7 separate regions of the Homo sapiens genome follow, and regions 1, 2, 3, 4, 6 and 7 are each linked to region 5. Evidence: promoter capture Hi-C in 16 types of primary human blood cells and fetal thymus (Javierre and others, 2016). All regions are on one chromosome and are shown on one strand. Each heading gives the region's core, a stretch centred on a gene start or on the middle of the fragment in contact. The rest is flanking DNA. Distances are from core to core; before and after follow the strand shown.

Region 1 (3,745 bases), core at 1,037-3,536, 190 kb after region 5:
ATGACCATCTTAACTATTTATGTCAGCAACAACCTGATTCCAAATAAGACCAGGTTCTGGGGTACTGGTTAGGACCTGAACACATGAATTGGGGTTGGGGGAGGCACAGGTCAACCAATAACACTTAATGAAGAATAATCTGAAATTTTCCCACTAGTCATACTACTCTAGCGAGTAAATAAAAGTCTCCCTGGCCAGGCATGGTGGTGCATGCCTATAATCGCTTGAGGCCAGGAGTTCGAGACCAGCCTGGGTAACATAGTGAGGCCCCATCTCTACAAAAAATTTAAAACTTACCTGGGCGTGGTGGTGTGAGACCCCATCTCTATAAAAAATTTAAAACTTGTCTGGGCATGGTGGTACATGCCTGTAGTCCCAGCTACTAGAGAAGGTGAGGTGTGAAGATCACTTAAGCCTAGGAATGTGAGGCTACTGTGAGCTATGACCACACCAAATGCACCCCAGCCTGGTTGACAGTAAGATTCTCTCTCTCTACCTTTCTCTCTCTCTACCTCTCCCTCTCCTTTTCCCTCTCCCTGTCCCTCCTTTTTTTTTTTTTTATGTCTCCTTGGTAGATCAATGGTCAGAAAACAACTAGATTTCCTTCCCCTCCCCTCCCCCCGCCCCCATCACTTGGGAATTTACTAATTTCTCATCAGAATGGCATTCTTGCCTTTTGGACTTAATTTTAGAAATAAAGCTGCTCTTATTCTTCATTTAAAATTGGTCAGGGATAAACCTACTTATAGAAGAATACTTGTCCAGAGGCCAATTATCTGACAACCTCACCTATAAGATGGGTAGAGAATGGAGAACCAAGGTCTCAAAGGAAATGGAAAGAGTTCTGAGTGAAGATGTTAAAACGTTTGTGAAATAAACCCTTTCAGAGAGCCTGATGGGCCTTCACTCACATCCTGTTAACCTTTATGTTACACACGATCCTAACAGAGTTGTGAAAGCTGAGTTTCCAGTTAGTAAAAGAGCAGAAGCGTGAACCTGTGTGTAAGGCAAACTCAGGTCAGCGGATGATGCTTCAGGACAGTGAGGGAGGGGGTCAACTCAAAAAGTAAATTGCAGACTAGATCTAGTTCAAATATTATTTCATATTTTTATTTTTATTTTTATTTTTTTTGAGACGGAGTCTTGCTCTGTCGCCCAGGCTGGAGTGTAGTGGCACGATCTCAGCTCACTGCAAGCTCTGTCTCCTGGGTTCACGCCATTCTCCTGCCTCAGCCTCCCAAGTAGCTGGGACTACAGGCGCCCACCACCATGCCCAGCTAATTTTTTGTACTTTTAGTAGAGACGGGGTTTCACCATGTCAGCCAGGATGGTCTCGATCTCCTGACCTCGTGATCCGCCTGCCTCAGCCTCCCAAAGTGCTGGGATTACAGGCATGAGCCACTGTGCCCGGCTTTTGTATTATATATTTTTCAGAGACAGTCTCACTCTGTCACCCAGGCTGGTGTGCAGTGACGTGATCGCATCTCACTGCAGCTTCGAACTCTTGGGTCCAAGTGATCCTCCTACCTCAGCCTCCCAGGTAGCTGGGACTATAGGCACACATCCCCACACCTGGCTCTTTTTTAAGTTCTTTTTTTTTTTTTTTTTGAGATGGAGTCTCACTCTGTCGCCAGGCTGGAGTGCAGTGGCACAATCTCGGCTCACTGCAACCTCTGACTCCCTGGTTGAAGGGATTCTTCTGTCTCAGCCTCCCTAGTAGCTGGGATTATAGGCACGCACCACCACACCCAGCTAATTTTTTTATTTTTAGCAGCGATGGGGTTTCACCACGTTGGCCAGGATGGTCTCGATCTCCTGACCTCGTGATCCGCCCGCCTCGGCCTCCCAAAGTGCTGGGCTTACAAGCGTGAGCCACCACACCCGTCCTTAAGTTCTTTTTATAGAGACAGGGTCTTGCTATGTTACCCAGGCTAGTCTTGAACTCCTGGCCTCAAGCAATCCTCCTGTCTTGGCCTCCAAATAAGATTTTATTATGATGCCTTCATTGATGTATGTTCTTTGAATTTCTGTAGCATTTTGTCTTCCTTAGTTGATTGTCACCCGTTTTCTAATGTAGCAGTTATTCATGTAGCACATATTTACATCTCTCCTACCAGATGATTGTTAGAACATACCCAGTTGTGCCTGGTATAGTACCTGCCACACAGTAGGTGCCTCAATAAGTTGTTATTGAAGATGGAAAACTAAAACATATCACATCATATGGGCAAGGTAGGGTTCCAAAGCATTTGGGGCAGAAAAGGTAATTCTGATATTTACTCTTTGAAATTAATTTTTATGAAAGTTATGAAATCTAAATTCTCACCTCTCCTTAGGCTTTTGACAGGTGTTCACAGATCTCATTTTATTTATAAGCCTATCAGTTTTTAATAATCACTTTTAAGGAGGCCTTTTATTAATGTTTGGTCTGATTTGCAAACTTAGTTAATTAAACTCCTTTAAACATTTTAAGCTGCATTTGTAAAGGAAATCGAACTTATTAAATTTATAAGTACTCAATTGCCTGACTCAACAAACAAGCCTCTTAGAGCACTTAAGCAATTCTTATAAGTCTAATTAAGCTCATAAGTATGTTACACCTTGTGGTCTTTTAAGTTTTCTTGTATAGTATATATGACCTTACTGAGATTTTGACTTCAAATCAAAATCTAAGTTGATTATTTAATGCCACATTTTAAGTTAAAGTCTCAAGGCTGGTCTGTTATTCTAATGGACAGATTCTCTTAATCGTTATAAATATTTGAAATACTATGTTTGAAATACAGTGAGTATTTCAAATAGTTAGAACAATTGATACATTGATCTGCATCGATATGTTGATCTGCATTGATGTCTTGTTTAAGGAATTCATTCTACAGACCTGATTTCCTTAAGCATTTCTCTGCTTTATTCTAAATGTTCCTGGGGGTAAAAGATGCTCACACAAATTGTCCAAGCATGGAAAGACCTGCTTCCCATGAGGACGCCTCTCCCCCTGACTTCCACACCTCAGGGATCTTTGGAAACGTCTCTTCCCCAGCAACCAGCGCCGCACCCGGCCCACCTCTCACCCTCGACTGCCCAGTGGGAGAATTGCTATAAATTCCAAATCAGATGCTTTCTGAAAGGGACCTACCAGGGGCTTCTGGCAACTTTAAGAAGGAAAGTCTGAGCAATTGGAGGCTCCTGGAGGCTGCCCAGGAATGCAGTTCAGTCCTCGGAATTTCTAATTCTTCTTCGCCCTGAGGAAGCTCACAAAGGTGGACAAGCAGGCCCCTTCTCACCCGAAATGTAGGAAGCCATCAGCAACCTGCACCCTGGGCGATCTCCCAGGAGAACCTGCCCCTGGCCTTTGTGGTGACCTTTGCTGTGGGAAAGGGGAGGCAGGAGGCCATGGGGTCTGGCCTTGGAACCACAGCCCGTGGTCTGCACCTGCCCACCCAGGGACTAGTGCTCTTCCCACTGGAGGCCGACTTCAGGACCACCCGACACAGCCTCGCCAGCTTCCCTTCCACCCTCGGCCTCCCATCCTCATAGATCTAGCATACAGTGGCTCAACTCAACTTGTGCCTCAGTCACAAGCCTCACGGTCATTGAGATTGCAGGAAATAACAGACCAGTAAGTAAATCTGGCTCTCCAGTTCACATTTTTTAAAAACCAAGCCCAGGCCAGTTGCGGTGGCTCACATCTGTAATCCCAGCACTTTGGGAGGCCAAGGTGGGAGGATTGCTTGAGCCCAGGGGT
Region 2 (3,739 bases), core at 360-2,859, 170 kb after region 5:
GAAACTGACACTGTTTTGTACGTATCTGAAGGGTAACCGGATTTTCACATTCCCTGATCTTAACTTTTGGTATGTTTCTCTTCTCTGTAATCTTAAGCAAGTTAAGTATGGGGAATCTTCATTCTTGTAGCTATAAGACAAGGTAAGTGGTTTTCCTTTCATCTTGTTTGAAGTGAAATTCTTATACTGGTCTTATCCTGAAGGGCCAATTTCTTTTTGTATTTCAGCTTTGATATTAGCATATGCCCAGAACCTATAGGAAATCAGTCAACAGACCTAGAAAAAGTCTAATAGCTTTGCCTTTTCATACTCTTCACACTTTGCAAGGTTTTCATGACAGTTGGTAGGTGAACTCTGAGCATATTTGGCCAGAGGCAGATTCCTGTGTCTCTTTGCTTACTAAGGATACAATAGGAGGGCTTATAGATGACATTTGTAGGTATGGCTTAGACGGGGAAATATTTGAAGGTTCCTGCATTATTTTGGGAACTTGCCTGAGGTTGCATTTGTATTATAAGGTCAAATTTAAAGGCAGGGAAGGCCGTTACCAATATCATGTATGTATGTCTAAGGAAATATTTTGTCTTTTGCAGGGACTTGATTTCATTTTGCTTGGTTTTCTCAGGGGTGATTTCACCTCAGTTCTGTGTAAAGAGGATTCCCAGATCTCTAGTATTAAGATTGAATGCCTATCTTGACTAGTTGACTAAGAGTTGGGTTTGGGGGTTGGTTTGTCTGTAGCTGTTTCCTCTGCAAAGCCACCTTAGCATCAGTGCAATGAGCTTTTCTTGTGGAGCCAGGGCTGAAGATAGCTTTCTATTGTTTTCATTCTCCTGCGAGTTGGAGCTTAGGGGAGCCCTTATGTGAACTGATGCATCCCGGAGGGAGGGCTTATGTGGTTTCATTGGCGGGCGCGATGCAGACGCAGCTATGTTTAGATTCTTCCCTCTCAGTTACCAGGTGCCCATTCATGCCACTCCCTCACTTCCATAGGTTGTGGAAAATGGTGAAAATAGGATTGTTGAGGTAATTTTTTGAAGCACTGTTATTGTGGTTGACATTGATCATTTGCTACTTCAATTGTATTCCATGATGTCAAATTTACTGTATTTACCTGTAGCAGAAGGAAGATAAACCCTCTCAGAAAATGAAAGGGCAGCATTATTATGTGTTCATGAAGTCATACTGTGGCCTCATTGGCTATCATTGCAGTCATCAAGGATACATTCTTCATAAAATAACACAATAAGGCTGATGTGTGGAGGTCACGGGTTGTCACAACTGTATCTAGGTTAAAAAATGTTGCTATCCACCCAGCCCTCCTTAAAAGAGGCTATTTATAATACAATGCGGGTGTTTGTGCTGCTTGCATCGGGCAGGCGCATCCTGAATGAAGAATTAGCTCTTTAAAAAGAACATTAAAAATAAAACTCATGTTGTAAAGATCTGACAGCCAAAAGAGATTGTGGGCTGTTGTAAATGCTTGCTTATTTCCCAAGGTTGCTGAGTTACTTGCTCTGGGTCATGAAATATTTTGATCTGGCAAGTAGGCTTTGCTTTTTTTAAAAAAATTTACATGTTCTAGATATGAATATACCTACCTACTTCCTAACAATCACTTGGCAGGCCCTTTGGGGATAGGAGCCCCCTCCTGGGAGGGAGGGTCTGTCTTCTCTCCTCCCTGCGTCGGCCACACTGCTGCCTCTTATTCCACCAGGCTCTGGCTTCCTGCATGGGCCATTCCACTTCCGTCTCCCATCAGGGGGCAGGACTCGGGGAAGAAACTTGGGCATAAAGAATGTGTAAATTACACCTTAATAAAGCTGTTAAGAAAAAATAAGCACCCCGATTAATGGACTGTGTCACCATCAGATGAATATTCTAAGTGATTTTTAAAAATAGCTCTTTCACGAGAGTGTTTTGGTTTGGGGTGTGTATTCTTGGATTGTTTTTATTATTTTTCTGCATAGCCTTGATAGGAAAATGTAGAACTCTGTTATCATAATACATGCAGTATTTAGATTGGATACACTTCTTGCTCCCCTTGCATTGATTTCCTACTTTTCTCCTTTGCCTTTTCCCGGTACTTAAGCATTAAGTCGCGGGCATTTTCCCAGTGTAATTGTTGATTAAGTGCTGCATATCCCGTGATGATTATGAGAAGATTACTGTATTCAGCTTTTAATCTTGTGAGTGTCAAATATTTTACTTTAGTGGTATCGTTATTATTATTATTATTCATAGCTCTTTCTGTTTGAGTAATGCAATCAGGCAAAATAAAGGTAATGCCACAAATTCAGCATTTTTATAGTAATTCTTTGTCTCAGAATGGAAAGTGCCACCTTCAGGCCATTCTCAAATACTGATGGAGATTTATACAGATAGGAATCAGAATATTTTAGGCTTCTTTTGGTTGCAAGTAACAGAAAGCAACAAGTTTAGGAAGAAATGCATATATATATATATGAGGGCAGGGAATCTATTGGAGGAAGTACTGTGGGTCTCTCAGGACCCCAAGGCCAAGCATGTATAATAGCTGGCGGTCATCAAGACTGGAACCTGGAAGGCTGCCAGGAACGCGGGCACCACTCGTACCTTCTCTCTGTCACTTTCTGTGTTCTCTTTGTTTTCTCTAATGCCATGTGCAGGATGATCAGTGGTCACCTTGTGGCATTCAAGCCAAATATCCTCCATGGAAGAGAATAGCTCAGGTGGCCTGGCTGTCTTTCAGTTCCAGTGCCCACTTCCCAGGAGCAACAGAAGTTCTGTGAATGGAGTCACTGAAAGCATGTGACCTACCTGGTCCTGACGCCTTGTCCGGGGGAGCAGCAGCATGGAGAAAAAACGTGGTAGCCAGGGGCTTTCTCCATGGGTGGGGAGAGGCAGAGCTCCGAGGGGAAGAGGCCCCCCATTGCGAGTGGGATAGACACCCCAAACAGAGCCCCATTTTCTGTTTTCTTGAGAGAGACAGAGACTCCAGATTCTTATCTAGCCTCCAGTGGCAACTTCTCATGCTTCTCCAGGGTTCCACGTGCTGTATCCCAGAGCCTTGACACTGAGGGCAGGAGCGTGGGATTCTGAAGAGAATCCCAAAAAACTATTTATAATCAACTGTCTGTTGCCTAGTGGGAGAAAAGGAATCATTGGTATGAACAACTCCAGTTACTGTTTCCACAGAACCAGCAGGCTTTCTGGTTCTTTCCTGAGGCACTCCGCTTTACATAGGAGGAAACTGAGATTGGAAGGTAAGTGTATCACCTGATGTCACACAGCCAGAAAGGAGGAAGCTGGGTCACTGATGCTGGCTGAGCCCAAAATGCAGAACCCACGTGTGTCTGTCTCATTCAGCCACCATGGTGGCTTTGGGTTGAATTTTCACAAGCTCACGGTGGCCACCTCATGAGCATGCACAGAGAGCAGTAGATAGTTAATAGGGAAGTGGCTGAGTAGAAGTTGGCCTGAAATGGAAAATTTGCTGGGAATAATTTACAGGCCAAGTAATATTTGTGAACATTCGTGTGAACTTAAGCTTGGCATGAGCTATCTATACAGAAATCTAAAATCGGTCTAAACGTTTGGGTTGCACTTGGAGCCATAGGCCATCGAAGAGCAATGCCGTTGTGTCACTTTGGTTAGGGAGTGTCTGGCTCAGCCACTACATGTCACTCAGAGGATGCCAGTGTCAGTGATATGGGGGGTAGCGCTAATTGGAAAATGGAGGCTTGTCAGAGTCACTGCT
Region 3 (4,038 bases), core at 697-3,196, 180 kb before region 5:
AAAGAATGTAGCAAGATATACCATGCAAAAGAAAGATTGTATAGCTAACCCAAAGAAAGATCGCATAACTGTAAGGCAAGGAACACTGTTAGAGATAAGGGAGATATTTCATAATAAGAAAGATTCAATTCACTTATACTGCACTCACTTGCTCTCTCTCTGTCTCTCTCTCTCACACACACACACAATTATAAGACCTACAAGGAGAAATACAGATATCTATATAGTTAGAAATTTTAAAACACCTCTCAGTAATTGGTACAATCTAGAGACAAAATAAATAAGGATATAGAAAATTTGAACAAAGTTAATTAACAAACATCATCTAATTATAAAACATTGCACTCAACAAATACAGAGTAGATATTCCTTTCAAGTACACATAGAATATTTGCCAGTGTTCTCTATTTGGTGAGTCATAAAGCAACTCTTAACATATTGATGGAAATCATAGAGTATAGGATGGAAATCATAGAGTATATTTTCCAACTACAGTGACATTAAGCTAGAAATCAATTACAAAAAATATAAATGAAAAATCCCCATATGTTTAGAAGTTAAGCAATCACAAGTCAAAGAATAAATGGCAATGGAAAGTAGAAAATATTTGGAAATTAATGACAATGAAAATATGACAGCAAAAATTGTGGAATGCATGTAAAGCAATGCTTAGAGGGATATTTAAAGCCTATTTATATTTGCATATATTAGAAAAGAAGAGAGGTTTAAAAATAACCTAAGCATTAATTTCCAGAAGTTAGAAAAGAACAACTAAATTTTTTTTACAGTGTTGAAGAAAGGAGATAATAAAGACAAGATAAAAGGTAATGAAATGGGGGGAGAATCAACAGAGCCAAAGGACTAATAAAATCAATGAATCCTGGTGAGACTAATCAAGAAAAAATAGCACCAACAACAACTATGAGGAATGAAAAAAGGGTATAACTATCTTTAAAAGATAGTAAGAGAATATTATGAAAAACTTTATGGCAATATATTTGACATTTTAGAGGAAATGGACAAAAATTTTAAAATGCCACTTACTGAAACTGCTGTAAGAAAAATAACAGGCTGAGTTGCTCTATGTCTCCTCATGAATATGTAATTACAAAGTTTCCCATAAGGAAAACTTCAGATCCAGATAGTTTTACTGTTGAGGTCACCAAATATTTAAGGAAGAAATAACACATATTTTCCACAAACTCTCCACTAGAGAATTGAAAAAGAAGGAATACTCCCAGCTGGTTTCAAGAGGCCAGGAGAATTTTGATACTAAAACCTGACTGAAATGTTATAAGAAAGGAACATTCCAGGCCAGTTTCACTCATGAATATAAATTTTAAAATCCTAAACAAGGCCGGGCACAGTGTCTCACGCCTGTAATCCCAGCACTTTGGGAGGCTGAGGTGGGAGGATCACTTGAGGTCAGGAGTTCGAGACCAGCCTGGCCAATATGGTGAAATGCCCGTCAACTAAAACTACAAAAATGAGCTAGGCTTGGTGGCACGTGCCTATAATCCTAGCTACTTGGGAGGCTGAGGCAGGAGAATGGCTTGAACCGGGGAGGCGGAGGTTGCAGTGAGCCGAGATTGTGCCACTGCACTCCAGCCTGGGTGACAGAGTGAGACTCTGTCTCAATCAATCAATCAATAAAATATCTGTCTCAATAAATAAATAAAATTCTAAACAAAATATTAGTAGTATGAATCTAGCAATAAATTACTCCATCATGATCAAGTTGGTTATCTTCTAGAAATGCAAGGTTAGTGTAATATATTTGAAATCAGTAAGTGTTATTTAGTATATTAGCAGCATAAAGGGAAAAAATCATGATCATCTCAATAGATGTAGAAAATATATGTGATGTAATTAACATTTATTCTCGATTAAAAAAGATTTCTGCAAACTAATAAAAAGGGAGTTTTCTTACTGTAAGAAGCATATATACAAAAAATAGCCTACATCATTAAAAAGTAAAAAACATACTTAATGCGTGAAATGTTGAAAGTTTCCCTTTGAGAGTAGGAAAAACAAATCTGCCATCTATCACCACTTCTATTCATTATTGCACAGCAGATCTTAGCTAGTGTGATGAGACATGAAAGAGAAATGAAGGTATTAGGATTAGAAAGGAATAAATAAAACTATTAATTATTGGGAGACTAAATTACTGAGTATAAAGAAAATTCAAAATAAATTTCGGTTAAGTTGTTGGAACTAAAATGAATTTAGCAGGTTTGTTGCATATGAAGTAAATATGAAAAAAGTAAATTGTATTTCTCTTTATCACTAATAATCAGAACATGAATTTACATTAGAATAAAAATAATCAAATTATCTAGGAATAAATCTAACAAGACCCCTATATTGAAAACCATGAAACACTATTGAGATAAATTAAAGACCTAAATAAATGGAGGGATATATGTTGTTTATGAGATGGAAGACTTACTTCTTTTTTTTTTTTGAGATGGAATCTCGCTCAATTGCCCAGGCTGGAGTGCAGTGGCGTGATCTCGGCTCACTGCAAGCTCCGCCTCCCGGGTTCACACCATTCTCCTGCCTCAGCCTCCTGAGTAGCTGGGACTACAGGCGACTGCCACCGTGCCCGGCTAATTTTTTTTTTTTTTTGTATTTTTAGTAGAGACGGGGTTTCACCATGTTAGCCAGGATGGTCTTGATCTCCTGACCTTGTGATCCTCCCGCCTCGGCCTCCCAAAGTGCTGGGATTACAGGCGTGAGCCACTGCGCCTGGCCGGAAGACTTACTTTTTAAAAGATGTCAGTTCATCTCAAAGTGATGTATAGAGTCAGTGTAATCCCAATCAGAATCCTGAGGGTTTTGTGAAAATTGAGAAGCCAATTCTAAAATTTATGTGGAAACACAAAATGCCAAGAGTAGAAAAGGTACTTTTTTTTTTGACACAGAGTCTCACTTTGTTGCCTAGGCTGGATCTCGACTCACTGCAGCCTCTGCCTCCCGGATTCAGGTGATTCTCCTGCTCCAGCCTCCCAAGTAGCTGGGATTACAGGTGTGCGCCAGGACCCAAAAGAACCAATTATAAAGGAGAAGGCAGATAAAATTGGACTATACTAAAATGAGCTTTTGTTCATCAAAAGATATAGAGAATGAAAGGCAACTTAAGAGATATTTACAACGTCTATAATTTACAAAAGGCTTATATGAAGGATATGCAAAGAATTCCTACAAATCAATTCAAGAAAAACAAAATAGCCCCGTAGAAAAATGGACAAGAGTCTTAAATAGGGACTTCACCAAAGAGGATATTCAAATGTTGAATAAACATGTGAAAAGTTGTTCAACTTCATAAGTCTTCAGGGAAATATAAATTAGAAACCACGTGAAATGTGACTCCATGTCCACCACAATGCCTACAGTTGAAAATTACTTACAGTACCAAGAGTTGGTGAGGATTTGTAGAAATGAGAATTCTCATACACTGGTGGTGAGAGTGTAAATTGGTACAACCACTTTGGAAAACTAATCAGCATTACCTAATAAAAGATGAACATATGCGTATTCTGTAAGTCAGTAGTTCTATCCTGATGTACAGGCACAATGGAAAAGTGAATACATATGTACCCAAAATTATGGATAGAAATGTTCATAGCAGCATTATTGATAAAAGCTCAAAACTGGAATCCACCCAGTGTCCATCAAGAGTATAATATAATGTGCATACTTGTGTGCACACACACAAATACTTTATGGTATATGTGAAAAGTGACATACCGATAAAAACAAACTATAGCTACACAACCTGGATGAGTCTCATTGACATTAATGTGTGAAAGAAGTCCTCACCATACACATCTGAATTCCGTTTATATAAAGCTCAAAAAATAGACGTGATGAAACTATAGCTGCCCAGTGCAGTGGCTCACACCTTTAATCCCAGCATTTTGGGAGGCCAAGGTGGGCAGATCACTTGAACCCAGGAGTTTGAGACCAACCTGGGCAACATGGAAACCCCATCTCTACAAAAAATAAAATAATTAGCTGGGAGTGTGGCCTGCA
Region 4 (3,557 bases), core at 270-2,769, 220 kb after region 5:
ATGGGCTGTAAATAGTTGAATTATTTTATTTTTAATATGTTCTCCTCACTCCCCCTCCCCCCACCCCCCCCACATTCCCTGGTTGCAGATGGGTTCTTAGAGCACCACTGGACCTGTCTTAAAGTTTAAAAAAGGGAAATGGTGGGTCACTCCTGGCTGTGGAAGATAACCATTGCCCCAGAGCTGTAGCATCTCACAGCTGCAGAATTTACGTGATCTTAGAGATTTAGGCTCCAAAGTTCTGTGGGGTTTTTTTGTATTACTAGAAAGGAATACCTGAGCCTGCGTAATTTATAAAGAAAAGAGGTTTATCTGGCTCATGGTTCTGTAGGCTGTACAACTTCATGGCGCCAGCACCAGCTTCTGATGGAGATCTGAGACTACTCCACTCATGCGAAATGCGGAGGGGAGGAATCACAGAGTGAGAGGGAAAGCACGAGAGAGATGGGGGAAGGGAGGGAGGTGCCAGGCTCTTTTTAACAACCAGCTCTCACGGGAACACATAGAGCAAGAACTCACTCATGACCACAAGGACAGCTCTGAGCCATTCACGAGGGATCCTCCCCGTGAACCAAACACTTCCAGTGAGGCCCCACCTCCAATGCTGGGGATCAAACTTCAGCATGTGCTTTAGAGAGGTCGAGCACATTAAACTGTAGCACATTACAAATCCCCTTCCAGATGTTTGAGAAGCAGCTTTCTAGTAAGGAAATCAAAAGGCAAAACCTTTTGTAACAAAGAGATTGCCTCAGCAGAACAGTGGTTTATGGCATAGTGGGACCGGGTGTGTGATTCAATATGGTAGAAGTCTACCCAGAAAGAACACAGTGAGGTTTTGTTCTCAGACTACGTCCTGTGTCTCTATAATGAGAGGCAGGTGTCAGGTGTGGGAACATCACTGGCTCCATAGTTCCTTTTTAAATTATTTTGAGTTAGTATAAGACATACATCCCCAGGCAAAGTGAGCCTATGTTCAGAGTCACCCTCCAGTTCTTCAGTGCTCGAGCATTAGGGAGGAAGACAGTGGAGAGGTGGGCACGCAGTTAGTGTGTGCCTTGAAGCACTGATGGCAGGGTTCTGCGTGGTATTTACTCTCACTAACACACCTGCCAGTGTCACTCTGAGATGGAATCTTTCCTTCTGTAAAAGATTATTTGCACATTGACCCAGTTGAAGACAGAGTTAATGAAGATGCCGTGCATGTGGAAATACTCAATTCTCAGCACTGACAAGCACTGCCATGCCTGCTGGGGCCAAGCCACTATGAGCACCCCCACAGCTGTGGGAAAGTTGGTGCAGGGGTTACCAGCAACCACGAACCCTTTTACTAGAGGAGGAAGTGGCTTCTGGCGTGGGAACTGGGCAGGAGCTATCTTCCAATAAGTGGAGAGAAGTGATGGTTGGGGAAAGCCAATCACTGGGGAAGATGACCTTATAGCATAGAGAGGGGGAAAAACAGACTCAAGAAAGATGCACTGGTGGTCCCTGGCTGGCCGTGCCCAGGCCCCTATACTCTGAGCATCTCCCTGGGCCTTTGGCTGTGGTCTCAAGGGGCTTCCTGGTCCCACCTCTGGCTTCTGGCCGTGGCACATCCTTTCTCTTGGACACCAGTGTGGCCAGGCTCTGAGGTGCTCTGGGGTCTCTTGGGAGTCTCCATTCCTGTTCCTGCCCTGTGGAAGCCTTCTTGCACCTGAGGCTGGCTCCAGTCCCCTCCTGGGCGGTGAGCTTCAGCTGTAACACTGGATGAAGAAACCAGGAGCAAGCAGGACATTTTCAAAGCAAAGAATGCCAGACTCTAGAGGGCTTCGGCATTAATCGCCCTCTCCTCCCTCCCTGCAGGGTCAGAATCTCTTCCACGGCAACCCCAAATGTCCCCTGTGCACATGGCTATGAGCTACTGCCATCCCCAGAGAGGGGTGACCCAGGAGACAGAAACCAGAGAATGCAGTAAGCAGAGATTCACAACTGGATGAGATGCAAAGGGGAAGAGACTTGAGAGGAATGTGTAGTTTCTCATTCATCTATAGGGAGCTTTAAAAAATTTAAAAAATATATAAACTGACCTCAGACAAGTCCAGCACAGTTAACAAGCCAAACAGAACCAAATCAAAACCCCCTGCCTCTTCAATAATGGCTCTGTCTTATTACCCATGGGACAGGATCATAACTTGGTCTGGGTCATTTGTCACCTTTGTCCTGGGCTTCAAATCTAGAAGTTTAGATTTTTTGGTATTCTCAGTTTCTGTCCACATGGTTCTTTGAGTTTTTTCCTAGGCAGCTGCTAGAAAGATTTTGATCAACTGGTCAAAGATATTAAAGAAGTCAATGTTGATCAGTAGGAAAATTTAGAGTGCCAGATAAAAGAGGTGTCTGGGATGGCAGTGTCTTGTCAAAGGGCTGGAGGTGATGCGTTCACTTGCTTTGGAATCACAGATTCGGGAATGTGACGGCAATGTGACGCAGACCTCGCTGCTGAGGCGAAAAGGACGTTAGAATTAAGGGACTCAGAAGACATCAAAGTTAAAGCGGTTCTTGTTGCCCGGAGAAAACAGAAATACGAAAGCATCTGCCTGGGGAGTATCAAGGTACTCCTTTCATTTCTCCAGCAGAGGAGCAGCAGGGACAGTGATCGACTCTGAGGAAGTGAGAGGCCCGGAGAGCTTCCAGCCCGGCCATCCTAACACCACCTTAGAATTGGGGCGCCTGAGACAGCCCTCAGCACCAGGCTCCCAGCCCAGGATGCTCTTTGAGCTCTGTACTTACCTTCCAGTAGCTTTTCCTAGAATCCCCTTCCTGATTAAGTGAAATGAGGGGTAATAGATGGGCAATTTACACGAGTTAGAAAGATGCCCCCTGTTGGGGAGCTGACTTGGACAGATGTATTCCGAATTTGCAGGGTTCACTGTGATACTGTTCCTCAGAGCCCGTACATTCTTCATTTAGAGTTTACCAGTCACTGTATTTAAGCTGGAAAGACTCAGGAAATGTGTGAATGGGAGCCTCATACCCAGAGTACCCCCAATGAAATGTAGAGCTTACTTGGAGATGTGTGTGTTTGTTTGTTTGTTTGTTTTCATCTGTTCTTATCCCTTTGGCCCTAAAAATTATCCAAGCACAGTCATCCGTTGGGTATCCATGGGGGATTGGTTCCAGGACCCCCTAAGATACCAAAACCTGAGGATGTTCAAATCTCTTGTATAAAATAGTGCAGTTTTTGTTGTTGTTTTTGTTGTTGTTGTTGTTGTTGTTGTCTGAGATGGAGTCTCGCTGTGTCGCCCAGGCTTGAGCGCAGTGGCACAATCTTGGCTTACTACAGCCTCTGCCTCCTGGATTCCAGTGATTCTCCTGCCTCAGCCTCCCAAGTAGCTGGGACTACAGGCACCCACCACCACACCTGGCTAATTTTTTGAATTTTTAGTAGAGATGGGATTTCACCATGTTGGCCAGGCTGGTCTTGAACTCCTAACCTCAAGTGATCCACCTGCCTTGGCCTCCCAGAGTGTTGGGATTACAGGCATGAGCCACCACAAATAGTGTAGTATTTGTATAGATCATTC
Region 5 (3,818 bases), core at 1,093-3,592:
CAGGAAATAAGTGTTTCTCAAAGTGATTTCTAGGGCACATATACAATTCGGCTGTTAAATGTGTTTGTAAAACAGTGTAGACAAGACATTAGACAATGCAGCTTGCTTATTTGTGACTTCTCAGGACCTAAGACGCAAGGGTCCTTTCTGAAAGTTCATGGGGAATTGTGAATGGGGTTGTTCCCAAACAAATTTGGCCCCTGCACCCTAGGTCAGGAAGCAAGTCCCAGAGCTGAGGTTCTATGGAATTAGAAGGTGGAAAAGGCCACATTAAGCCCTCCTTTGGCTTTCAGCATTTTTTCCCCCATTTCAGATAGACCGACAGGCAGACATGTGTCCCCTGCTGTCCACATCAGGCAGGGCTGGTCCACCACTTCCTCTTCAGGGTGACACCTTCTCACATCTCTTGCTGCAACTGTAATGGGAGAGAGAAATTAAGAAATATGTTTGAGAATGCAAGAAGCAAAAACACACATGGAATGACATATTCCATGTACAATCACCTTTGGCTCACATCCCCTCTTTTTGAACTCTGAGAAAGCAGGAGGGGACTGGGGCCGGTGAAAATAAGGTGCCACCTCTACTTAATATAAAGAGATTTCTGGCTATTGTGTGAGTGTAGCTGGGGGACTTGGGGGTGGGGTTGGGGGCTGGGGATGGAAGAGGAAGATGTAAGGGGGCGACTTCGTCCTCTCTAGGCCAGCAAGGGCTTGGACAAAGGTCTCTGGCCTTGGTTCCTCTGGCGGAGAATAAGCACCCTCAACTGACGCGCTGATGGAGGGGCAGGACCTGCATTAGCCGGAGCTACAGGAAAGCAGGGTACACATTGTCTCATCCTGGCTTTGTTACCACTTCTAACCCTGAGAATCTCTGGCGTGAGACTTCAAAGATCATCTGACTTGTCTCTGCCACCTTGTGCCTTTTGCTTAGTGACTTTGGGTAGGTCGCATCAAGTGCTCAGTAATCAAAGGGGTGGGGCTGGATGACCTCAGGCTACCCCTGGGCTTCCACCTCCTAATTGTCTCCAGATGGGGAGATGCCACACAACTTGGAAGTAGTAAGGTCTCCGGTGAGTCTGAAAGGCACATCTTTGCTGAAGACTTGTCACCTGCCCTCTTGAACCTTTGTTAGGGGGAATGACTCTCAGATTGGGGGGGGGGGGTCTATTTTTTGAGACAGAAAAAATTTTCAGAAGCCTAACTGGTGTTTCCCTTAGTCCCTCCTTTTGGCTAGGTTTAAAAGTACTGCATGCTAGAAAGCTTTCTCCAGGTCTACTCGCTGTTTTTTTCTGTAGTTTTCAGACCGCTCACGATGTCCTGTCCACTGGCTCAGGAGGGGGTGGCAGGAAGGGTGCCCTGGGCTTCTCCTCTGTAGAGGAACCAACCAATTTGGCTACCTGGGAGTAATGTGCAATCACATTTTTATTTTTGTCACCACCAGGGTGTCCTGTTGGACTCTCTCCTCTCATCCTCTCCCAAGGCGGCTGGTTGGTGTGGCTTTAGCAGTGGGTGCTATTATTTGGAGGTGCCTAGAGACTTAGAGTGGTGGCTGCACCATTTCGCTGGGTGGCTTGCGAATTGTCAGTCTGGTTCCTGAGAGCTCAAACTGAGATGGAAATGAGACCTGTTTTCTCTCTAGGCCGGCCGGGGCGTTCCGCACAACCCACTTGAGAGGCCCCACCGGCGTGGCCTTTAGGACGGTGCCTCTTGTCTTGTAATGGCCACCGGCCCTCCCTCGGGAGACACGCGGCCACCTGGGTGGGACGCTGCGGTGCTTACCTCCGGGACACGAGGTGGTCGCTGGGAGAGGGCTCGGAAGGCCCTGGGGGTCCTATCAGGACGCAGCACTGGGGAGACGTGGAATCTCCTCTTCTCACCCCCACAAGCCTCGCCCGCATCGTAATTCTTTTTATTTTTACTTTCGAGCCATGTAAGGCATGCAGATGGGGTAGGAGCGTTCCCGCGACACGTTGCCAGCAGCGCAGCGCCGGCCCGCTCGTGTGGCCGGAGCCCGGGGAGGGGACAGGGCACGCGCCGCCTGACCCACCTGCCCCACCGCCCACGGTCGCGGCCGCCCTGGGTCGCGGGACCCGCGCCGGTCACCCCCGCCCCGCGGGGCCCAAGAGGCGAGGCCGCGCGGCCCAGCCCCGGCCTCCGCCCTGGCTGAGTGCTGGGGCGCGCGAGGGGCGCGGGCAGGGTCCGCCCCGGCGGGTCAGTGCCCCGCGCCCCAGGCCGCTGGCGGCCAGGCCCACGTTTTCCCTTTCTCCGGCTCCCTCCGCCCTCCGCTCTGTCCCTCCCTCCGCCCTCCTCCCTCCCCGCGCTTCCCCTCCTCCTGCCTGGTCATGTGTCGCCTTTTTTTGTTTGCAGTGGAAACAATTTCTCGCCGCTCGGCGCGCCCCGGCCCGACGCGCCGCGGCGGAGGCGAGCGGGAGGCGGGACGGGGCGGGGAGAGCGGCGGGGCCGGCGGGAGGACGCGCGGCGCGCCCGGCGGACGCCGCAGGTCCCATGCCGCGCCGCGACCCCCGCGCCCCTGCCGCCCGCGCCCGCGGCCGCCCCCCGCCGCCCGCCGCCCCGGGCTCGCCGCGCCGCGCCCGCGCGTCCTTAGCGGGGCCACCGAGCGATGCCCGCCGGGCGCCCGCGAAAGTTTGTCGGCTCCTGCTGAAGGGCAGCGGCGCCCCCGCACCCCCGTGCCCCGCTCCGGCCAGGTGAGTTTGCACCCCGCTCCTGCCGGCTCCCGCGTGGGCTCGGGGGGCACCCGGGGCGGGAGGCGCGTCCGAGACGGTCCTGGAGACTACCTCGCCGCTCTGGGAAGACGAGGGACCCCGCAGGTCCTGGGGGGAGGGTCGGGTGTGGACCCCGGGAGCCCCCGAGCCGGGAAGTTGCCGGGTCCGAAGAGTTTCCTGCCCCGACGTGCGTGCTGCTTCCCGGTGCCTCGGTTTCCGAAAAGACGCCCGCAAGGAACAGAGTTGGTATTGTCTGCGGAGGACGGGGTCCCCGCCGTTCCGGGCCGGGGAGGGGGTTCCGATCAAGTGGAGACCCCAAGATGAGAAACAGGCTCCTAACAAAGATCACCCCCCGGCCAAACTGTGCAGACTTGGCACAGGCAACGAACGTCTCCGGAGACCCCCGAGGCCCGACCCCCCTCATCCCGGCCCTGTTTGAAACCCTCCTTGGGCCCTGGATAAGTTGGGGGACGGCGGGCTTTTATTGATTTGTTTTCGAGGCTCGCCGCGGTGCGGCCAATAAAAGGTTTATGACATCTGACCGGCAGTGAAGGTATGCGAGCTCCCAATTGCCCTGTATATGGGGATAAGAGCAGTTTCCCCCGTTGCCCGGCAACGCCGCTGATTGACGCGGGGTGCAGCCAATCGCCACTCCCGCAGGTCCCCTTGAAATGTTTTTGACAAGTACAGTAGACGAGAGTGAAGCGCGTGCGTGCGCGCGCGCGCGTGCTGGGTGGGCGGGGGTGACCCGGCCCCCCAAACTCGCTACTGCTCGGCTCTGGGAAGATTTCTTAACTTTTTAAAGTTCGCATCGAACATCTGTTCAGAGCTGGGCCAGTAATGTCTTTGTCAGTTATTTGGAGACCTTCTGTTTACTAGGCGAGAAACTAAGCTTTCTTGCCGCATTTTCTCCGTTAAAAAATAAAGAGGGTAACAAAACACAGCAAGTCATAAAAAAAACAAAAGAGGGTGTGTGTGTGTGTGTGTGTGTGTGTGTGTGTGTGTAGAGAAAAGTTGTAAGGAGGTCACCAGTGAATAACTATTTGCGTATCTGGTGGAGCAGCCTTGTTGGCAGCAGATTAAAAATGTTTGCTTA
Region 6 (3,766 bases), core at 731-3,230, 250 kb before region 5:
ACACACACACACACACACACACACACTTATACATATATGCTGTATTAGTCAATTTTCACGCTGCTGATAAAGACATACCTGAGACTGAGCAATTTACAAAAGAAAGAGGTTTAATGGACTTACAGTTCCACATGGCTGAGGAGGCCTCACGATCATGGTGGAAGGCAAGGAGGAGCAAGTCACATCCTACATGGATGGCAGCAGGCAAAGAGAGAGTTTGTGCAGGGAAACTCCTGTTTTTAAAACCATCAGATCTCATGAGACTCATTCACTATCAGGAGAACAGCATGGGAAAGACCTGCCCCCATGATTCAATTATCTCCACTGGGCCCCTCCCACAACACGTGGGAATTATGGGACTTACAAGATGAGATTTGGGCGGGGACACAGAGCCAAACCATATCATATGCATATATATTCAAATTGTCCAAAAGGCTTTTGTTTTGTATTTTTTCATGGAGCTACTGTCTTATGTACATAATTGTCTTATATTTGGGCAGATAAGGCACTCCATGAGCCCTGATGTAGACTGGCAAATATTTGCACTCAGTATTAATGGATCACTACCTATAATCATAACAAGGAAAAGGCTGGGCTAGTCAGATGAAAGTCTAAAGGCTGACCCAGCCCTGCTGTATCCACAGAGCACATCAGATGATGAACAATGTGCCTCCTGAGCCTGAGTGAGTGTCCGTTGTCGATGTTGGACTACATTGCCCAGATCCCCGGCTTTAAGAGATCTTTGCCCCATGTGCTGGGAAGGTTGTAGGCTGACAGCTCTCAGCTGTCAATCCTCTTTGGGAATAGCCTAGGCTGAAGAAAGCTTTCTTGTCCAAGGACATACCCCCTTTCCAGGATAGCCTGCAACCAATGACCAGTTGCCATTGTATGGAGGCTCAATCCCAGTGCCCCAGTTCAGACCAATACTGAAGGAGCTGCCTGTGGGACTGAGGCCTTGCAGTGACTACACTGCAGCTTAATTCTCCCTCTTCCCAACCTTCCTTCTTTCCCTTCCTCCTACAGATGTTAATCTCAAATGCACTCCCCAAATAAATCCCCTGCCTGCCAATTTCTGCCTCAACAGAACAAAGGAACTCATGCGGTTTCAATAATCTTTTAAAAGCCAATTTATCTACAATGGAAAATCCACATGTTCTAAATAGCCATAAAGTTGTTTGTGGATATCAAAATTCAGAGAAACACTGAAATAGATAGTTTAATAGGCAGAACAGTAAAGACAGTCAGAGACTGATTGGGAATGAACTTCAAGAATTTTAAGATTTTTGAGTGAGTATAGTGCTATAGATGACGTGGAACTTGGTACACTCATGAATTGAGGAGGCAACAGCCACTGGAATATAGGTGTGAAAAAAAGAGTGAGGCAAGGATTTAAACAAGTTCAAAGACCCTGGAAATGACTCAGGGACCTGTCAGAGAGGGGAAGGCTCAGCCATTTTTGATAAATACAGAAAATGAGCAGTAATTATATGCATTATTTCATTAATTCCTTGACTATTTTATTTTATTTTATTGATTTATTTTTGAGATGGAGTTTCACTCTTGTTACCCAGGCTGGAGTGCAGTGGCACGATCCCGGCTCACTGCAACCTCTGCCTCCTGGGTTCAAGCAATTCTCCTGCCTCAGCCTCCAGAGTAGTTGGGATTACAGGCGTGTGCTACCACGCCTGGCTAATTTTTGTATTTTTAGTAGAGACAGAGTTTCACCATGTTGGCCAGGCTGGTCTCGAACTCCTGACCTCATGATCTGCCTGCCTTGGCCTCCCAAAGTGCTGGGATTACAGGCATGATTCCTTGGCTATTTATGAAGTCCTTCTACCATGTTAGCCTCTGTCCCAGCAGATGACACCATGAGGACCTGTAAGATGCTGCGTAGTTGGATGATGTGAGGCTGAAGAGAAAGAGACGTTCACGTGAAGGTAAAAAATGATGGTTTGGCCGGGTGTGGTGGCTCACACCTGTAATCCCAGCACTTTGGGAGGCCGAGGCGGGTGGATCATGAGGTCAGGAGTTCAAGACCATCCTGACCAACATAGTGAAACTCTGTCTCCTCTAAAAATACAAAAAAATTAGCTGGGCACCGTGGCAGGCAACTGTAATCCCAGCTCCTTGGGAGGCTGAGGCAGAAGAATCACTTGAACCCAGGAGGCAGAGGTGGCAGTGAGCCGAGATCATGCCACTGCACTCCAGCCTGGGTGACAGAGCAAGACTCCATATCAGAAAAATAAATAAATAAATAAATAAAAAGATGGTTTGGCAGCCGCGCAATGAGAAGATAAGAGAATATGGAGCTCATCTTGCCCTCATCCCAGCTCCAGCTCCCTGCACGTCCTCAAGGGAGAGCAGGCTTCGGTTATAATCAGGAAGCAGGGGAAACATTTGGTAAAGGCTGGAATATGTTAGGAAATTTACTTAGCATTTTATAGGGATTCCAGAGGATGAAATGGGGGGTTTGGGAGAGAAAAGAGTGCCCGTAAAAACACTTCCATGCCATTTAAAGAGTGTGATGATGAAGTTAGGGCTGAGATATTCTAGCAATCAATATTGAGACCAGTGATGTTTATTCATGATGGTGTGAGGGTAAACCAGATAACTGAGAGCCAAAGATGGACCTAACCCAATTAGGAAAATGAATAACACAATAGCAGGCCTAGTTTTTATAAATTATGCACACCGATAGGAATAACTTAAGAGTACAATGATTTACTTATTCAACTTAAATTGCTATGAGAATAACCCCTTAAAGAAAAAGATGGCATTATAACATTTAGCATGATGCAACACTATGGTGTTATGTGGTGTAGTTACTGAAGGCAGTAACAGACCAATCTAAAAAGAGAGGCTGTGGTATGAAAATCATTCTGAACTCCATTAGACAAATGGCTGACTTTTCCATCTCCAGAAAGTAACAAATAGGAGAAACAAGGACAGACAAGACAATCAAGAGATTACAGCAATGTAGGGTCAAAGGAGAGCTTCCTCTTCGCCCTCTGAAGGTTTGCTTGAAAAATCAACTCACAAAAGGCAGTTTAATGGGACAAAAGGCAGACAATTTATTTAACACACACACACACACACAGAGCCACGCAGTGACCATCCAATGGGGTTTGGAAGCTTATATGCCATCCTGGCTGGACATTATGGGAAGGGAGCGAAGAGGAACTCTGTTGACGGGATTACTAGGAAGAATGAACGGATCAGGGAACAGAGATTAATTTGTTCATTTTCTTGTGAAAGGGTCTGTTCCAGTATGGTTACCTTCTTGGTCTTAGAGGGAGGAGAAGAAGGAACAATGGTTCCTTCTGGTGGGTCTGGATCTTAGGCAGATAAAGCTTTTGAGAGAGACAATGGGGTGGAGAAGGTCAGAGAGACCTTGAAGCTTCTTCAGTTCAGTATGTCAGACCACCATATTTTAGGGTATTGGGTTTCTGAGCCCCAACGGTAACATTAAGAGAAGGAAAAACGTCAAAAAAATAATTGTTGTAAAACAAACAAAAAATTAAAAAAAAAAAAAGACCGTTAAAAGAGAATGTAGCATAGAGCAAGAGGCATGTTTGGAAAAAGTGATCACCTTTTAGGAAGTTGCCAGTTGGTGGGATCCTACCTAAGCAAGCATTCCCGGGTGTGAGACCATCACTTTGCCTTTGAGATGCCAGGGGTTAAAATGGCATCTCAAAGAAAAATGTATCAAGTGTGATACATGAACGCAAAAAATGTAGAAAATGTAAGGCATTGTTCTTACATTTTC
Region 7 (3,935 bases), core at 1,185-3,684, 250 kb after region 5:
GGAGGCCAAACCCCAAAGCTCAGGGGCTGTGTTCACAGGCAAGCCCTGGAGGAACTCCTCTTGAAGGGCCTGTTTCCTCTGACTTGGTGCTGGGTTCCCATACGCCTCCCGATCCAGAATAGAAAGAGAAAACAAGACTGCTCAGAGTGAACAAGTCACAGCAGCAGGAAGTCGCAGGAATCGGACCACAAGTAAAAAACATGATCAGGCACCACAAACAGCCTTGCTCTGTGCTCAGGACAGTTCATTTAATCCTCACGCAGCCCCACAAGGTAGATGAGGAAGCTGAGTCTTCAAGAAGTAAAACAGCCTGCTCAAAGTCACCAGTAAGCAACACTGGGATATGAGCACAGGCGTGTGTGGCTTGCAAGCCAGGCTCTGTCTGTAAGGATTTAGGGGAGGTGGTGTGTATCTGGGATCACGGAGCACAGGACACAAGCTGGGACCCTTCTGGGTCTCACTGGGACTTCCGTGTACAAATGCACACATTGTAAGTGTTGGGGTTCATCAGGAGGCTCTCGGACATCTAGCAAAGGCTGAGTTTTGATAATGACCCTCATACATTTTGCTGGTGGACACGACAGTACGGAGTCTCTCCCCCAGCCTAAATTTAGCAAAATACCACCGGCCCTGGGGCCCCAGGAGAGCAGCTCCTTCGCCTCACTCCCTACTGCACCCTTTTCATTAGGGACTCTTTCCCTTCCCCTTTCACTTTCTATGTGGGATGCAGCTGAAGTCTCCCTGAGCCTCAAGGCCCATGAGGGTGACAGGAGAAAAGCCAGGGTAGAGATTGTCACTACTGTTATCTCACTGGTGGTCCTGACCCCACAGCCCTTCTACCAGTGCCGTATCCTCAGCGTGTGCCCGGTGAGTCATGGTGGTGGAGACCCACAGTCATTTCCCAAGCTTCATGCTCTCAGCCACGTGATTCCACCTGTGCCGCACTTCCTCAGTTTATCTGCTGTGTCCACCGTGCTGACACGGCGATAGCCACTGGGGGCCTAGCAGTAACCACACCCTGTCTCATGGAGCTAGCTCTCTAATGGGACACATGACCACACAGTTCATAATGATGGTGGGGAGTGCCCTCTATGGAGGGGATGTAAGAGTACTTACAGTTGGGGTCATCTAGGCAGGAAAAGTATGGTCATGTTCCCCAGAACTCTTAGAAATGGATCACGAGGTAGATGAGCTTACAGGAAACCGGGCCAGCATGGTGCCATAGAACAGTTCCCATCCCTGCCAAATTCTTCAGCCCTTGTGTCCAAGGTCAGATGCCTTGTCTTCCACAAAACATTCCCTGGCGTCCACCCTTCGTCCCCTTCAGCTACAAGTGACCCTCCTCTCCTGCAAGTATTCATCCTTCTGAAGGCTGGGCGCCAGGCACTAACAGACAGGCAGCTGCCTCCCAGACATAAGGAGCATGGGTCCTAACCAGGAATAAGCTTCACAGCCATTGCTGTCAGGCCAAGCCGTGGTCCAGGCACCTGCAGGCATTAATTCGTGTCCTCAGCCCCACACCCACGGGGAGCAGGTGTAGTTACTATTCCCACTTTCGCGATAAGGAAGCACAAGGAAAGTACATCGCTCAGATGTAAAGACACAAAGAAATAATCAGAGGTGTGATGAGTGCTACAGACGCCTTATAGGCATGGGTAGCAGGGACCTTGTTATAGGGAAATCACAAAGGAGGGTCGGTCTGGTGATGTAGCTAAGACCTCAAGTCTGAGAGTCAGACTTTGATTCCAGTCCCTGCTCCGCAAGTGATCAGTTGTGTGACTTTAAGTACATCACTGAACTTCTCCAGGCTTCACTTCGAGCCACTGTAAAATAAGGATGCTAATATCCACCTTACGGAGTTAAACATGGTCCTCTGCACAGACTTAGCAGAGCGCCTGGCAGGTGTTGAGTTCGGGAAGTCGTAGTTTATTGCCCTCTGGTCTGTGATGCGACCCTGGCTTGCCTCTCTGTTAGGCTGCAACATCGCTGTGGCAGTGTCTATATCCGATCCAACCCCGTGTCCCTCCCCCAGAACCCTCCCTAAGGTCATGCATTTCTGTTAGGCGCTCAGTGAGTATTTGTAGATTGCATGAACGAGGGAGGGAATGCATGAGTGAGTAGCTGTCACCACATGGCAGGTATCTTTGCTGAACACTGGTTTAGTCTTCTGACAAAAGCCTCCTAATGTAGCCGCTTCAGACGAGAGCAGGCTTTTTTCTCTGAAGTACCCAGCCAACATCGTCTGGCGGTGTCTGACTCTGTGGTGTTGGCGGGGACACGAACCAAGCACAGCTTGATTTTTATGGTTTAATGTAAGAGATGGAGCCTCCACCACTGTCGCTTCAGAAGATTGTTGTTTTGACGTCTCAGCCACACAAATGGAGTGAAACTGCCATTATAGGAGATAAGCAGGGGAGACTGAGGTGTCAGGATTTAGGACCCTGCCTTCAAAGCAGATCCACCTGTTGCCCCCACAGTTTGCGAGTGGCTCCATTGAACACAAAGGGACTGATGGTTGAATGCAGGCGGGCTGCCGGGTGCCCCCATCTGAGGACGTCTAACTGTGTCCCTTCTTTGTCTCCCGTCCCTCCCCACTGTCCTCGCTCTGCAGGAATGGCATCACCAGCTGCCGGATGCGGACTGAGAGTGAGCCATCTTGTGGCTCCCCAGTGGTCAGCGGAGACCCCAAGGAGGATCACAACTACAGCAGTGCCAAGTCCTCCAACGCCCGGAGCACCTCGCCCACCAGCGACTCCATCTCCTCCTCCTCCTCCTCAGCCGACGACCACTATGAGTTTGCCACCAAGGGGAGCCAGGAGGGCAGCGAGGGCAGCGAGGGGAGCTTCCGGAGCCACGAGAGCCCCAGCGACACGGAAGAGGACGACAGGAAGCACAGCCAGAAGGAGCCCAAGGATTCTCTGGGGGACAGCGGGTACGCATCCCAGCACAAGAAGCGCCAGCACTTCGCCAAGGCCAGGAAGGTCCCCAGCGACACACTGCCCCTCAAAAAGAGACGCACCGAAAAGCCCCCCGAGAGCGATGATGAGGAGATGAAAGAAGCGGCAGGGTCCCTCCTGCACTTAGCAGGGATCCGGTCCTGTTTGAATAACATCACCAATCGGACGGCAAAGGGGCAGAAAGAGCAAAAGGAAACCACAAAAAATTAAAAACAAGTCACTGATTTGTTTTGAACTTACGACCATTTGGTTTCAGCATGTCAGGAGATTTCTAATGATTTGTGGCAATATCAGCAATTTTTTTTCTTTTTTCTTGTTTTTGGTTTGGTTTTCTTTCTTTTCTTTTCCTTTTATTTTGTTTTAATTTGCCCCCTCTTCTTTGTTTTGGACCCTTAAGAATTTTATTTTTAAAGGAGATTGAAGCCATAGAACTCATATTGACACTCAGCTGTTTTACAAAAGCTTTTCATTATCTGAAGACAAAACCGAAAAAGCCAAAATTACCATTGCTTCCTCCAGCTTGTCAGAAACCTGTGGCTGAATCCGCAGGGATGTCAACGTCAATATCACAGGAACACACATTCGGCACCTAGAAGGCACGTGGGCAAAGTAATCATCGTTCAGGCCCAACCCTTAGGTTTAAAAAGTCAGGTTGTCCATCCCATTGGGTTCACTGAGTGAAGGCACATAAAGCAATTGAGGAGGAGGAGGAACCCCTCGTCCCCCTAGGAGCAGACCCAAGCTTGTGGCACCAGGCATCTGATGGTGCCAGGAAAGCCACTGGAATTGTCACACGGCGAGCACAGAGGGCCGGCCACCAGTCCTCGATGCTTCTGAACCCTGAAGCCCGATGACATCTTACGAGGTGGACGTTGGACTGTTCATGCGCATCGGGTGTCAGTGACTCATGGAGAAGAAATGGGGTAAATTTTTAGTGATGTTGCTAATCATTGAATTCTGTTCTCTATTAAATTAAGA

Evidence for each region. The method cuts DNA at HindIII sites, captures the fragments that hold promoters and counts their contacts. A CHiCAGO score of 5 or more calls a contact.
Region 1: a contact is called between a fragment that was not itself captured here and the fragment with the promoter of FOXN3 in region 5, in 1 of 17 cell types (total B cells). The highest score is 6.1, in total B cells.
Region 2: a contact is called between a fragment that was not itself captured here and the fragment with the promoter of FOXN3 in region 5, in 4 of 17 cell types (total B cells, megakaryocytes, M2 macrophages and 1 more). The highest score is 7.6, in total B cells.
Region 3: a fragment that was not itself captured here is called in contact with the fragment with the promoter of FOXN3 in region 5 in 1 of 17 cell types (activated CD4 T cells); the score reaches 5.6 in activated CD4 T cells.
Region 4: a fragment that was not itself captured here is called in contact with the fragment with the promoter of FOXN3 in region 5 in 4 of 17 cell types (M0 macrophages, total B cells, activated CD4 T cells and 1 more); the score reaches 6.3 in M0 macrophages.
Region 6: a contact is called between a fragment that was not itself captured here and the fragment with the promoter of FOXN3 in region 5, in 1 of 17 cell types (activated CD4 T cells). The highest score is 6.6, in activated CD4 T cells.
Region 7: a contact is called between a fragment that was not itself captured here and the fragment with the promoter of FOXN3 in region 5, in 2 of 17 cell types (megakaryocytes and total B cells). The highest score is 7.3, in megakaryocytes.

What each region holds. Positions count from the first base shown.
Region 1 is chr14:89,222,991-89,226,735 of GRCh38, reverse strand. The region is part of intron 4 of FOXN3 (forkhead box N3); the gene reads left to right. Among named protein-coding and RNA genes, the nearest start is that of FOXN3-AS3, 130 kb to the left of the region's middle. The HindIII fragment of the contact is 6,945 bases long and covers 1-3,745 here.
Region 2 is chr14:89,241,041-89,244,779 of GRCh38, reverse strand. All of the region lies in intron 4 of FOXN3 (forkhead box N3), which reads left to right. Among named protein-coding and RNA genes, the nearest start is that of FOXN3-AS3, 110 kb to the left of the region's middle. The HindIII fragment of the contact is 3,844 bases long and covers 1-3,531 here.
Region 3 is chr14:89,593,754-89,597,791 of GRCh38, reverse strand. It overlaps a transcript of FOXN3 not described here. Among named protein-coding and RNA genes, the nearest start is that of FOXN3-AS2, 20 kb to the right of the region's middle. The HindIII fragment of the contact is 6,730 bases long and covers 1-4,038 here.
Region 4 is chr14:89,199,600-89,203,156 of GRCh38, reverse strand. All of the region lies in intron 4 of FOXN3 (forkhead box N3), which reads left to right. Among named protein-coding and RNA genes, the nearest start is that of FOXN3-AS3, 150 kb to the left of the region's middle. RefSeq lists an enhancer at 1,366-1,425. The HindIII fragment of the contact is 4,666 bases long and covers 1-3,557 here.
Region 5 is chr14:89,415,757-89,419,574 of GRCh38, reverse strand. It overlaps FOXN3 (forkhead box N3), which reads left to right and starts at 2,342. Exons shown (of 6, transcript NM_005197.4): 1 at 2,342-2,704. FOXN3-AS1 (FOXN3 antisense RNA 1) reads right to left here and starts at 2,221. Exons shown (of 2, transcript NR_036500.1): 1 at 1,779-2,221; 2 at 1-415. RefSeq lists silencers at 1,961-2,250, 2,291-2,500 and enhancers at 2,196-2,490, 2,115-2,647, 2,648-3,181, 3,196-3,490. The HindIII fragment of the contact is 2,355 bases long and covers 1,262-3,616 here.
Region 6 is chr14:89,662,310-89,666,075 of GRCh38, reverse strand. No RefSeq gene overlaps it. Among named protein-coding and RNA genes, the nearest start is that of FOXN3-AS2, 88 kb to the right of the region's middle. The HindIII fragment of the contact is 2,309 bases long and covers 826-3,134 here.
Region 7 is chr14:89,161,646-89,165,580 of GRCh38, reverse strand. FOXN3 (forkhead box N3) reads left to right here. Exons shown (of 6, transcript NM_005197.4): 6 at 2,612-3,935. The coding sequence ends at 3,167. Among named protein-coding and RNA genes, the nearest start is that of TRA-AGC15-1, 180 kb to the right of the region's middle. RefSeq lists enhancers at 35-164, 365-414, 1-590. The HindIII fragment of the contact is 1,974 bases long and covers 1,448-3,421 here.